Linked DNA regions of Homo sapiens: all the other regions are linked to region 3. Evidence: promoter capture Hi-C in human tissues and cell types (Jung and others, 2019). All regions are on one chromosome and are shown on one strand. Each heading gives the region's core, a stretch centred on a gene start or on the middle of the fragment in contact. The rest is flanking DNA. Distances are from core to core; before and after follow the strand shown.

Region 1 (4,202 bases), core at 1,196-3,695, 55 kb after region 3:
AATATTGTTATGTGTGAATTTGATCTTGTCATTATGGTGCTAGCTGGTTGTTTTGCCCATTAGTTAATGCAGTTTTTTCATAGTGTCAATGTTCTTTACAATTTGGTATGTTTTTGCAGTGGCTGGTACATGTTTAGTGATTCCTTCAGGAGCTGTTGTAAGGTATGGCTGGTGGTGACAAATCCCTCAGCATTTACTTGTCTGTAAAGGATTTTATTTCTCCTTCCTTATGAAGCTTTATTTGGCTGGATATGAAATTCTAGGTTGAAAATTCTTTTCTTTGAGAACATAGAATATTGGCCCCCACTCTCTTCTGGCTTGTAGGGTTTCTGCAGATAGATCCGCTGTCAGTCTGATGGGCTTCCCTTTGTGGGTAATCTGACCTTTCTCTCTGGTCTAACTTTTTTCCTTCATTTCAACCTCGGTGAATCTGACGATTATATGTCTTCGGGTTGCTCTTCTTGAGGAGTATCTTTGTGGTGTTCTCGTATTTCCTAAATTTGAATGTTGGCCTCTCTTGCTAGGTTGAGGAAGTTCTCCTGGATAATATCCTGAAGCGTGACTTACAACTTGGTTCCATTCTCCCTGTCACTTTCAGGTACACCAGTCAAACGTAGAATGAGTTTTCACATAGTCCCATATTTCTTGGAGGCTTTGTTCATTCCTTTTTATTCTTTTTTCTCTAATCTTGTCTTCTCTCTTTATTTCATTAAGTTGATCTTCAGTCACTGATATCCTTTCTTCTGCTTAATCGATTTGGCTATTGATACTTGCGAATACTTCACGAAGTTGTTGTGCTGTGTTTTTTCAGCTCCATCAGGTCGTTTATGTTCTTCTCTACATTGGTTATTCTGGTTAGCAATTCGGCTATCCTTTTTCCAAGGTTCTTACCTCCTTGCATTGGGTTAGAACGTGCTCCTTTAGCTCAGAGGAGTTTGTTATTACCCACTTTCTGAAGCCTACTTTTGCCAGTTCATCAAACTCATTCTCCATTCAGTTTTGTTCCTGTGCTGGTGAGGAGTTGTGATCCTTTGGAGGAGGAGAGGTGTTCTGGTTTTAGAATTTTCAGCCTTTTTGCACTGTTATTTTCTAATTTTTGTGGATTTCTCTACCTTTGGTCTTTGATGTTGGTGACCTACGGATGGGATCTTTGAGTGGATGTGCTAATCCTTTCTGTCTATTTCTTTTCCTTCTAATAGTCAGGCCCCTCTGCTGCTAGTCTGCTGGAGTTTGCTGGAGGTCCACTCCCGACGCTGTTTGCCTGGGTATCACCAGCAGAGGCTGCAGAGCAGCAAAGATTGCTTCCTGTTCTTTCCTTTGGAAGCTTCAACCCAGAAGGGCACCTGCCAGATGCCAGTCAGAGCTCTCCTGTATGAGGTGTCTGTCGGCCCCTACTGGGAGGTGTCTCCAAGTCAGCATACACAGGGGTCAGGGACCCACTAGAGGAGGCAGTCTGACCCTTAGCAGAGCTCGAACACTGTGCTGGGAGGTCTGCTGCTCTCTTCAGAGCTTCCAGGCAGGGACTTTTAAGTCTGCTATAAGGCCCTGACTGGGACTGCTGCATTTTTAAAGAGGTACCCTTTCCAGAGAGGAGAAATCTGGCAATCTGGCCACAGCTGCCTTGCTGAGCTGCTGTGATCTCTGCCCAGTTAGAAGTTCCCAGCACCCTTGTTTACACTGTGACCTCAAACCGCCCTACTTGAGCCTCAGCAGTGGCGGACGCCCCTCCCCGTACCAAGCTGGACTGTCCCAAGTGGATCTCAGATTGCTGCTGTGTTGGCAGTGAGAATTTCAAGCCAGTGGCTCCTAGTTTCCTGGGCTCCATGGGGGTGGGACCCACCAAGCCAGACCACTTCGCTCCCTTGCTTCAGCACCCCTTTCCAGGGGAGTGAACAGTTCTGTCTCACTGGCATTCCAGGCACCACTGGGGTATGGAAAAAAAAGAGCTCCTGCAGCTAGTTCAGTGTCTGCCCAATTTGCCACCCAGTTTTGTACTTGAAACCCTGGGCCCTGGTGGGGTAGGCACAAGAGGGGATCTCCTGGTTTGTGGGTTGCGAAGACCGAGGGACAAGCGCTTTATCTGTGCGGGAATTCCTCAGGCTCAGACCTTGACGGCTTCCCTTGGGTAGGGGGAAAATTCCCCGACCCCTTGCGCTTCCCAGGTGAGGCGACACCCCACCCTGCTTCAACTCACCCTCCGTGGGCTGCACTCACTCTCCAACCAGTCCCAATGAGATGAAACAGGTACCTCGGTTGGAAATAAAGAAATCACCCATCTTTTGTGTCAGTCTTGCTGGGAGCTGCAGACCAATGCTGTTCCTATTCAGTCATCTTGCATCCACCACACATAAACTTTTTAAGGAATTAAATTTTAATTTTCGTTATGTTTAAAAATCTACTTATCACTCAACATTTATTTTAAACTGATAAATTAGATTTTTGTATTGTTTGGACAAGCTAATGGATATGATTGCACAAAGTCAGTTGTTCAAAAGTTACTGGATACCAATGTCATTTAAGATCTAAAATGTGATGTTTGCATCGTTAATCAGTGAAATTATATATTTGAAAAGGGAGGATGTGATCTTCAGAATGTCCTGCAAATCATTACTAAAAAACTCTCAAAATATTGTCTGAGGCCTGATAGATATTTCAGATGGATATTGGTTATTAGAATCTGTCAACAAAAGTAAGAACATCGTTTTTGTTTGCAGGGTATACATATTCCTGGGGAAAAGTACAAAGATATGGCATAACAGATTTGATGAAATTCATTTGCTTTTGCCAAAACAAATCTACAACATGATACAATGAACACCTACCCCCAAATTATTTTTCTTAACTACTGAAGCTTTTATATCTTGTGTGAATCAGTCATCCTGCCAGAACTGTTTAAGATGCTATATTTGGAGTTCAATATACATCGCTTGTCCACGTTTCACAGATAACACAGCTTTTCACCGAATTAAAGGATATGATAGCGATTCAAAGTGTTGCTTTGTTCTACATTTATATTCAAAATCCTTTGGGTTGCTTCAGAGCCTGAAATAGCTCCAAAAAGGCTGTAAAGAAATATAGATACTAAAAAAATACCTGAAATTAACTTAAAATTTTTTTTGAGACGGAGTCTCACTCTGTCGCCCAGGCTGGAGTGCAACGGCACAATCTCAGCTCACTGCAACTTCTGCCTTCTGGGCTCAAGCAATTCTCCTGCCTCAGCCTCCCAAGCAGCTGAGATTACAGGCCCCTGCCACTGCCCCCAGCTAATTTTTGTATTTTTAGTAGAGACGGGGTTTCACATGTTAGTCAGGCTGGTCTCAAACTCCCCACCTCAGGTGATCTGCCTGCCTCAGCCTCCCAAAGTACTGGGATTACAGGCGTGAGCCACCAGGCCCGGCTAAAATTTTAACTTTGTTTTGGAGCAAATAAAAGTGTTCATATAAACATTTATTTTGTTTGCATTTCTTCAGTCTTTGCTAGATCCTTCCAACCCTCTCTCCTCTCTAGCACTTTCTCATAATCGCCATCCTTCTGTTATGTTCAGAGGTTGACTGACATTGTTCAGTCTCCACAGAAAAATGGGGGAGAGAAAAAAAGAACAAACCAGAATCATCTTTAGCTAGTGGAGTGTGGGAAAGGAAGCTAGAAACACTCATTTATTATTACTCTTATGATGTAGGAAATTGAATAGCAGAAACTACACATCAAGCTGCTGAAAATAAATGCCAATACAATCTATGATTTTTCTATGGTTTTATGATCACTTTTCTGTGATGATAATACATTTTTCATATTTTAATTATGAGTACTCAGTTAATAATATTATCTGCTTTCAGCCAACATGAATATGTTTATGGCTCTCTCCAAGTAAGACTTGGTCTTGAGTTCTTATTTTTGAAATATTTTCGATAGCTAAAATGTAGCAGAGCTCCATTCATCATTGTGATGTGAAGTTTCACTTCAATTCAAAACTCGAAGCCACTAGAAAAATTCACATAATAAATAAACTAACATGACTCACGTTTAAACAGAAAGAAAGTAAGTGCCTGTCTGTCCTGTTGTGCTGATGCCTAAGAATTATTTTGAAATGAAAACTTAAAGCTTCTCTCTATATTAAAGCTTTATTTAACAAACTTAAATTGGGCTCTTTTGATGTGAGAGCACTCTTAAAAACGTTTGCTGTTTGAAGAAGAATTAAATAT
Region 2 (4,544 bases), core at 1,488-3,987, 49 kb before region 3:
TAATTTTGTATTTTTAGTAGAGATGGGGTTACTTCATGCTGGTCAGGCGGGTCAAATCAAATAATGCTTATATGTACCTCTTAAGTGCTGTTTCCCATCTTTTCTCTTATGGCTCTTTTCACTGGCTCCCATTTTCTCCATTTTTAAAATATTTTTTTCAGCATAATTATCTTTAAGTATTTCAAATTTTGTTTGGACAAGATTGGTCTTTCTCATTAAGGCAGAGTTAGTGGATTTTTCAATCTCTAGCAGGAGGAAGTGGCACAAGTGCCTTCAGTACCTTGCAGGTAAGAAACTAGAAGGTGGACTGTGGGGGAAGTGTTATTAAATATTGCATCTCTTAAAAATGAAGCCAAAACCTAGCTTTATTAGGACTAATATGAACCTAATTATGTTATAACCTAGGTATCCAAAGTAAACTAGGTTTAATTTGGGTTCTGTGTGGTATGACTATCAGGAAAGATTCAGTGGGCAATTTACAGCTTCCAATGTTATTTTGTTACACTATAGACATACCTTCTTGTTTAATCTGTATGTACCCTGAAATAAAATTTCTGACTATGCTAGCATATCTTGCTATCTAATTTCTTTCAGTTCCTGAAGAATTTAATCACTATACCTCATATGTGAGCATATTTATCATAGACTGAGTTGTCTTTCATTTTCTTAATTTCTTTTCCTTAAAGATAATCGTGACCTTTTATATTCGAGCCACTGTTTCTCCCAATTTAATCATATTCAGAACCTAAATCTGTGTTATAAACATAGAAGTTATTCTATAGATAATTATTTCCTTTAAAGATAAGATATTAAGTAGGATTACAAGAGTGAGAATGTTAAAGTACTTACAAAATTTTATATTTTCACAAATAATCAACAAAACAAACTATGAAAGATATTTCAGTGACATACTTTAGAAGTGGTATTAAAAGTATTCCTTCTGGGTGCCATGGCTCACGCCTGTAATCCCAGCACTTTGGGAGGCCGAGGCAGGTGGATCACCTGAGGGCAGGAGGTCGAGACCAGCCTGGCCAACATGGTGAAACCCCATCTCTACAAAAATACAAAAAAAAAATTAGCTGGGCATGGTGGCGGGCACCTGTAACCCCAACTACTTTGGGGGCTGAGGCAGGAGAATCGCTTGAACCTGGGAGGCGGAGGTTGCAGTGAGCTGCCATTGTGCCATTTCACTGCAGCTTGGGCGACAAGAGTAAAACTATGTCTCAAAAAAAAAAAAAGTGTTCCTTTTCTCCTCAGGTATTATCATTATTTAATGCATGCACTTTGTCCTACTAGGAGTTTTCACTCTGGAGGACTTATAATTTTTTTCTTGACTAATGATGAATATCCAGCTCAGTGTTAACTTTAATAATCTAGTAAAGCCTTTACAGAAACTTTAGAACAACTATTGTAACATATTACTTAGCTACTGAATTACAGAAAGATGAAATAGATCACCAAGAATGTAATGAGAACAGATCAAAAAGTCTGAAGGCAAAAAACTAGAGCCAGAATGTCTTAGCTATTTTAAAGAAAACAGGGTAGCAATTACCAAAAATACATGAATTGAAGTTAGCTTCTTTCAGAAATTCTATTTCTTTTATTTACAAAAACACCACTCTTCTAGTCTCTCCATATGAAATAATAGAAAACCATATAGTTATATTAGTTAAACACAGAGGTCTACAATAGATCCCAAAAAGGCAATTGACATTGATCATAAAAAATATGTTTATTGATTAGTTTCTTCAGTCAAGTGAAATAAAAGAGAATCCTCCATATTTATCACCATTTTTAATTCTAGGGCCTTGTACTCCTTTCAAGGATGGTATTTCATTCACTTCCTGAATGACTGGTATTTCACGCAACTTCATGTCTGCCTTCAATTCAATCCTGTAAGCCAATGCTAGTTAGTTTTCAGTGAATTAGATACCTAACTTTCCTACATACAAAATTCTTTGAAATAAGAGTTTGTAAGGTAAAATTTCTGTTTCTTCAGATGACACATTACTCCATATCTCTATTGTCAAATATATTTTGGTCTTCACAATATGCATTTTGAAAATATCAATCACTTTGAAGTATTCACTTATAATCAATACATTCTAATTCAAAATCTAATTATATAGGTCCTGAGAAAAACTCAGATAATTTGGGGGCTAATAAAATAAATGACATTCATACACTTAAGACTTTTTAGGTTATTATATTTGATCAGTTGACTCTATACCACTAACAAAATATAATTTAAGCAAATATTTACAAAGGAAAATATTCAGTCTTACTAAAGTCAAGATATTTAAAATTACATTATTACATAAAATATGACATTCTTTATAAAATGCAGTCGACTTTCTAATAAGGCATAATTTCAATACCATAAGTCATTTACGTTTAAAAAAAGCCTTGGTCTAGTCTATTCATCTCATTTCTCCTTAAGTAAGATGCTAGTATTTGCTTGCTTACTTTCTAAAATATGATAATTACAATATATTTTCCAAATTCTCAAAAACAGTTTTATATATTCAGAATTTAAATAAATTAACATGTATTTAGAATATTTCAGACTTTAAATAAATTTCATTAATACATGATTAAACAGATGCTCAGTTCACACTGAGGTTTTATTTTTCTAAGTTTCTGCAGTCTCATCTCAAATCAATGGCCTGGTAATGCTTTTCCCTAAAGAATGAAAAACTACTACCAAAGACAAATTACTTTCATTCATATTATCTTCTTCAATAATTCTACATATGAATATGCTAATAATGGAATGTGACATTTCAAAAATTATCTCTCAAATAAAATTCTAATTTATTTCTGAAGACCTCTGCCTGTTACATAAATTGCCATAGTATAGAACTTGTGAATTGCAATGGAAAAATCTAGGTTGAAATACTGGTTATCCCAAGCTTGCTAAATTATTGTCCACAAGTTTCTTTACCTCGTGTCTACCTAGTATTTCTCAACTTTAGTATGGAAGAAATACCACCTTCCATATAAGACCATTGGAAAGAATAAGTGAAATAATTAAATAATTAAAGCAAAGCCTTTAATAAAATTGATCATAGTAAACACTATTAGTGGCCAGTGGTCACTACATATAGTGGTAGTGGTTAAGTAATAGCATCAGACATTAATAATATAAGCGATTTTGTAAAACATACTGTCAAAAAATACCATCAGATATGTTTTTTAAATTCTGAATACCTGCTCTACACAAACAAATGATATTTGTTTTTATAAATATCTCAAAATTATTTTGGAAGATAGATTTACACAGAAATACCTATGAAAGTTGTAAAGTTCTGTGGATGATATAAATAATAATATAGGTAAGTGGCACAGGATTTTAGACTTAGTGGGAGTGGCTGGGAACAACTTCAGAGGGGAAGCGGTAAGTTTTCCTGGGTCTTAAAAACTGAGGAAGATTGATGGAAGAGAGGAAAACACATCCCAAGAAAAAAGAAGGATATGCTTAAATGCACTGAGTTTCAAAAGTGTTTGAGAAGTGAAAAACATACTCAACTGATGTGAATAGAGGAGACAGGTCAGGAAAAGCAAGCTGGTGTTAAATTGTAAAGGGTTACAAATGTCAATTAAACTATTTTATTTGATTATCATACTGGTAGTGACTTCAACACTGACAGAATAACTGTTAACTGGACTGGCCTTCCTGTAGTAAATGACTATTAAACTAGATTAATTATATGGGTATAATTTTAAAGCATTGAACCAGAAGTAGCACACACTGTGATCCTTGAGGAAAGGAACACTCAGGAGGTAAACTCTCTCTTCATACTGGCTTCCTATCTGGGGCGCCTTTCAGTGAATGAGACATGGAGCTATGCTCAATATTGCAGAGCTGAGGAGGCTTAGACTGCAGTTTTAATTTGCAGAAATGGGTGGAATTTGTACAATACGATATTGGACAGGAGATATGTTGGTCATAAATCTTCATGGGGTCTTTGGCTGAGAAATGAACTGAACAGGTACAGAGTGATACTGTGAGAGGCCTAATGGAGAATTATGGCTACAAGCTGAATGCTGAATGGAGGAGGTATCAGAGGTTGTTCTATTCTGGAAGACTTTGGAATTGGCGTTATCACCCAGCAGATGGGAGAAATCTTACTGGGCACCTAAGACACTCACTTGTAATGTCAGAAAAGCCACACTTTAAGGCAAAAATGACTATATTCTGTATTAAGGGCTGCATTCCAGGACAAGGAACAGAACCGAAACAGATCCATATTAAGAAATGCATCCTCAGAGGAAGAACAGTATCTACCAGTAATTTACTGATTGGTCAAATAAAATCAACACCCTGTTAAGGAAGACAATATAATCAATGCTCCTCAAAATCTGTCATTTCCAATGTCCAGCTTCCATTAAAAATGTTAAACATGTGAAGAAGCAGATTCAGTGAAAGGGCTAAAGGATTATAAAGTAGAGTCTTTTTTCTGGTGGTTATTTTCTAGTTGGTATACTGATTGTTCCACAATGAGCAATCTAGAGGAGTGAGGATTAAAGCCAGGTTGTCAGGG
Region 3 (4,503 bases), core at 299-2,798:
CTTCTTGACCTGTCTTATCCTTCTTTACTAGTTGTACATGTCACGATGTTACTGGCTGCAATCTTAAAACATCTACTTGCTTAAACCCCAAAGTCTCTAGAGTCTTGTAATAATCAGCTCTGTCAAGACTTGGGGGAAAACCCAAGGCGATCCCACACCGGCTTTCTCGAGTCCCCGCGCGAGGATCACTGCCTTACCAATCCTTGTGTGATCTTTCTCTGGGTGGCACTTACCTGCTGCTCCCCGGGCTCCGCTGACTTCACCAGGTGCTTATCCTTGTACAGAGACCAGAGACCAACGTTAGGCAGGAAAATTAAAGCCACCGTGAACAACAAAGTCATCTGCAGAAATCTCTTCTGTTTCCTCTTCATTGCAAATGGTAACAGAGAAGAAAAGTTAAAGGAGATGGCTCCCTGACTGCTTCTTGTGTTTAATGTCAAATTCCTTTCCTCTCCCCTGCGAAGCACCAGAAACTGAGAAGCTACAAACTTTTGTTGCGTGCTCAGCACCAATCTGCAGGATTCAGAGGGAGTTGGCCATCTGCAGAACAAACGCACAGTTACTTTCCCCCCAGAAAACTATGACGAAGGCATTATCTATTGGCTTAGAAATAAATGACTTGACTAAAGAAATCATTAAGCCCATTGACCTCCATTAATATAAAGCAATAGAGTAAATATGGTCGTTTCATTGACTAAAGGTAAGTTATAAAAAAGTCAACAGCCTGCTAGATACTTAGGTAACTGGGAGTTTTTGTTGCTGTTGTTGTTGTTCGCCCCCCACCTCCTTAGTGTGGGAGGGCTGGGTCGGGGTGGAGCGGGTTAGGAGACAGAACTGAGAGGAACTGGCTCAACCCCTTCAAGTGTCAGGAAGAAAAGTGTCCGCTTTTGACATTGGAACAGCGTCACCTTCTTCGTCTTCCCTGAACATCTTTTCCTGTGCTCCCCTTGGGATAACCCACCTGAACTCAAGTTCAACTCCCTCCGGAGCCAGCTTGCCGGCGGGCTCCACCGGGATCCAGGGACTCGGGATCCGGGCAGAACTCCGGTTCGGATGGAGGTCCACGAAGTGCCGGACCCTCGCGCGCTGTCTACACGCTCCTCTGCAGGCAGCGGCTGGGAGCCCCGGGAACCTGGTGGAAAGGAGGCTACAGATGTCAGCGGAGTCCAGCCAGGAAGTGGTGGCGCCGCGACGTCCCTTCCTCGCGCGGTCCTCGGAATGCGATCCTCTGAGAAGTGAGCGCTCTGCCCATCAATCTCGTCCCTTCCCCCGGTGACGCTCTCACGCTCCGCTGTTCATGTTACCATTCTTTTCTGGCAACTGAACGAACCCACAGGACCATCACGAGCACCTAAAGGGCAATATTTTTTGATCTCCTCTTCTCGTAAAGGGGATGGAGGCGGAGAAACCGAAGTCTGTGCTGGGCTTGGAAGCGGACGAGGGCGCTGCGAGGAGGAGCGGAAGGCGGAGATGCGCCGCGGCTGCACACGGTCGCCCGCGCCCCACTCCCCGGCGCCTGCCTTCCGCGGAGACGTCGCTGGTGTCTGCCACGTGCGGCAGCCCGGAGCCCAGGAGGGGAGGGCGGGCCGCCTGGCGGGGGTGGGCAATGCCTCCCGGCCTCCAGACGCTATATAAACAGACCCGGACGCGAGGCAGCGGCGGAGGGCGAGCGTGACGCTGGAGGAGGAGTGGGAGCTCCCAGCCTGCGCGGGTCCTCTCTTTACCTGCCAGGGCTTTTCCGGGTAATCTGGGACCGACAGGGATGCCAGCACCCCGTCATCTCACCCAAAGGGCGCCAGGCCAGAGATTCCTGGGGAAAAGTCGCCGGCTGCAGGCGGTTGTCCCAGGAATTCCTCCATGGTGCCGGCGGGAGCGCGGCGAGCCGGGGCGCGGCGGCTGCGGGAGGTGGAGGCGACCCGGGACAGGGCCGGTCCCAGGGAGAGGGGATCCCCCGAGCCGCGCGTTCCGCCGTTCAGGCCAGGTAGGGGGTGGGGAAGGAGGAGGAAGAGGATCCCGAAGCAAGACAGAGCTGAGGCTCAGAGTTCTCAGGCAGCAGCTTCTGGAGGACACCGTGGAGACCCAAGGCGGCTTTATTTGGGTCTGCAAACACCCGGGGCCCCGGTTAAGATTCGGCAGGGCCACCCCGCTCCTCCCCCGCCTTGCACGACCGCACTCCGCGCGCCTTGTCACTGCGAGGGCTACCTGTCCTCGCACACTCCTCCGCGATGGCCAGAAAACGTGGGACTCGAGATAAGACTCTGGCAGATGGTACTCCTCCCTCCGCCTAACGTATCAATGCACCAACGCCCCTGACCGCACACTCAGGAACCTGTGGCAGCCTCGCCAAGGGACAGCGTGCCCAGCACCGTGCACTGGGCACTCTTGGATCTGGAGCTCACAACTCCGGAAGGAATGGGGACTTAGATGAGGTGACAGACATGCATGCATGCAATGCAGGCTGAATCCGCCTGTCTGGAGCCAAAAATAAACGCCATGGTCACCTCTTTGTTACAACCTGGATATGATGCCCACATGCGTGGGGTAGACATGCTTGGGATAGATAAGCCTGTGGACTTCAGACGGTATTTTCTCTTTCCCTTTTTTCTTCTTTCTCGTCCTCATCTCTGTCCCTCCCTCCTTTTCTTCTCGCCCTATCTCTTCCTCCCTTTCTACTCTCTCTAGTGTCTCACTTGAGAAAGACCTAGATTTGAGTGGGAAGAGTTATGCCTTAAACTGTTCTCATTATAAATTCAAAATGTACTTGAAGAATACAGATCGACTGTATGATGGCATGAATAAAGCGCTATGCTGTAATATTTGTTTTTGTGAATCACTTGAATTTTAAAATAGTCTAAAAATATATTTAATAAATGTTGTTGAATGTGTCCTTTATATAAAGACCAATTACCTTTAGATTTTATATAAATGCAACTTAATCTAGAGTGCAAGGGACTTAATTCCTCACCCCCACCCCCACACATACACTATGCCTTTTGTAGTCTGCGTTATTTTCTAACCTTTTTCTCTCTAAGGAAGTGCAGTTTTGAAACACAGAAATGTGAATTCTGGGAAGCAACATAGCAGGGAGAGGTTTCCTGGGAATATTGTCAGGTGCTCAAGGAAATAAATTTGGAGAATCATTTAATTATATTGGATATATTTTTAAGTACTGATACAGTTATTAATTTTCAAAGTAAAATAACTCAAAAGTGCACTTGGAATTAAAAAAGTAAAATCTCTCACATTTTAAACAATACCTGTTTTTTAATACCTTAAAAAATAGTCTTGGATCAGGAATAGACATACTAGCATTCTATTTGTTGAATCCAGGGTGTTGAGTTGAAACATGCTTCACTGTTGTTAAACTAGCAAATGGTCTTGCATACAGCACCCATTCAGAGAAAATCGTTAATTACTATTACTTCCCCAATCAAGTACACGCAGAATACATGGTAGAAACTGAAAGGAGAAAATTACTATGTTTACTTCTGTTTTATAGCATAGTTCCAGACCATAACTTTAGCTTTTTCTCCTTTTCTGTATAATTTATTTATTTATTTTTGATTCAGAGCATAATTTCTCTTTTCCCTTCAGTCTGGTATTCTTTCACAATTCCTCATGTAAATTACCAACAGATGACAATGTGTCTAGCTAAAATGGGTATTTTAGGTTGAGTTTACAAACAAAAAACTTCAGACGACAGTTAATTTTTTTGCTCAGATAATCCAGATTAAATGCCAATATAAATGTGTGTGGATGTTGTATGTATATATGTGTATATCATATATATTATATATAATATATATTATATGTATAATATATGTGTATATTATATATAGAATACACATGGACATGGTCTTCTACATTTTGACTTACATAGAAAGTCACCCATTCTATGCCCTATTTGCACTTCCATTCTGTTAGGATTCAACTGGCAACCTCAGATTATCAGAGTCCCATGCTGCTAATAATGTACTAATAACTATAGGGACACATTGGAAAGAAAACAGCAATATTCAGTGACCTTGAATAACTTACACTCTAGTTGAAAATGCAACATAAAGACAATAGAAATAAATTACCAAAGGTGCTTGGTACTAACCTTAAATTGAGCCAAATTTAAGCCCTATATTTAAGGAAGCAGAAGGTTATTGCTTTAGTTATCTCTCTACTTCAAAATGTAGCGACTTAAAACAAATTATTTTGCTATCTCTCTTATGATTCTGTGCATTGAATAGGCTCAGCTGGGTGGTTACACTTCCTGTGACGCAGGCTGAGGCCGAGGAGGTTGAATGGGCTGAGCCAAGATGGCTACTTTACATGGCTGACAGTTGGCAGTGACTGTCAGCTGGGGGGTCATGGGGCTGTCAACTGGAGTGCCTCAGCTTCCCTCCATATGGCCCCTGCATGTGGCCTGAGCTTCTCATACCATGGTAGCTAGTATCCAAGAGAGAGCAACCCAAGAACCTGTGTTCCAAGAGGGAGAAAACAAAAACTGTCAAG

The links. Contacts are between HindIII fragments. The study calls those that stand out against the background at their distance.
Region 1: a fragment that was not itself captured here is called in contact with the fragment with the promoter of GALNTL6 in region 3 in 2 of the 25 tissues and cell types used here (aorta and heart left ventricle).
Region 2: a fragment that was not itself captured here is called in contact with the fragment with the promoter of GALNTL6 in region 3 in 3 of the 25 tissues and cell types used here (dorsolateral prefrontal cortex, hippocampus and lymphoblastoid cells).

What each region holds. Positions count from the first base shown.
Region 1 is chr4:171,756,972-171,761,173 of GRCh38, reverse strand. No RefSeq gene overlaps it. Among named protein-coding and RNA genes, the nearest start is that of GALNTL6, 54 kb to the left of the region's middle. The HindIII fragment of the contact is 3,330 bases long and covers 781-4,110 here.
Region 2 is chr4:171,860,456-171,864,999 of GRCh38, reverse strand. All of the region lies in intron 2 of GALNTL6 (polypeptide N-acetylgalactosaminyltransferase like 6), which reads right to left. Among named protein-coding and RNA genes, the nearest start is that of GALNTL6, 49 kb to the right of the region's middle. The HindIII fragment of the contact is 5,882 bases long and covers 1-4,544 here.
Region 3 is chr4:171,810,449-171,814,951 of GRCh38, reverse strand. It overlaps GALNTL6 (polypeptide N-acetylgalactosaminyltransferase like 6), which reads right to left and starts at 1,548. Exons shown (of 13, transcript NM_001034845.3): 1 at 962-1,548; 2 at 234-540. The coding sequence starts at 371. It overlaps LOC441052 (a long non-coding RNA gene), which reads left to right and starts at 1,345. Exons shown (of 1, transcript NR_134656.1): 1 at 1,345-2,814. RefSeq lists an enhancer at 1,188-1,337 and a silencer at 1,578-1,627. The HindIII fragment of the contact is 16,056 bases long and covers 1-4,503 here.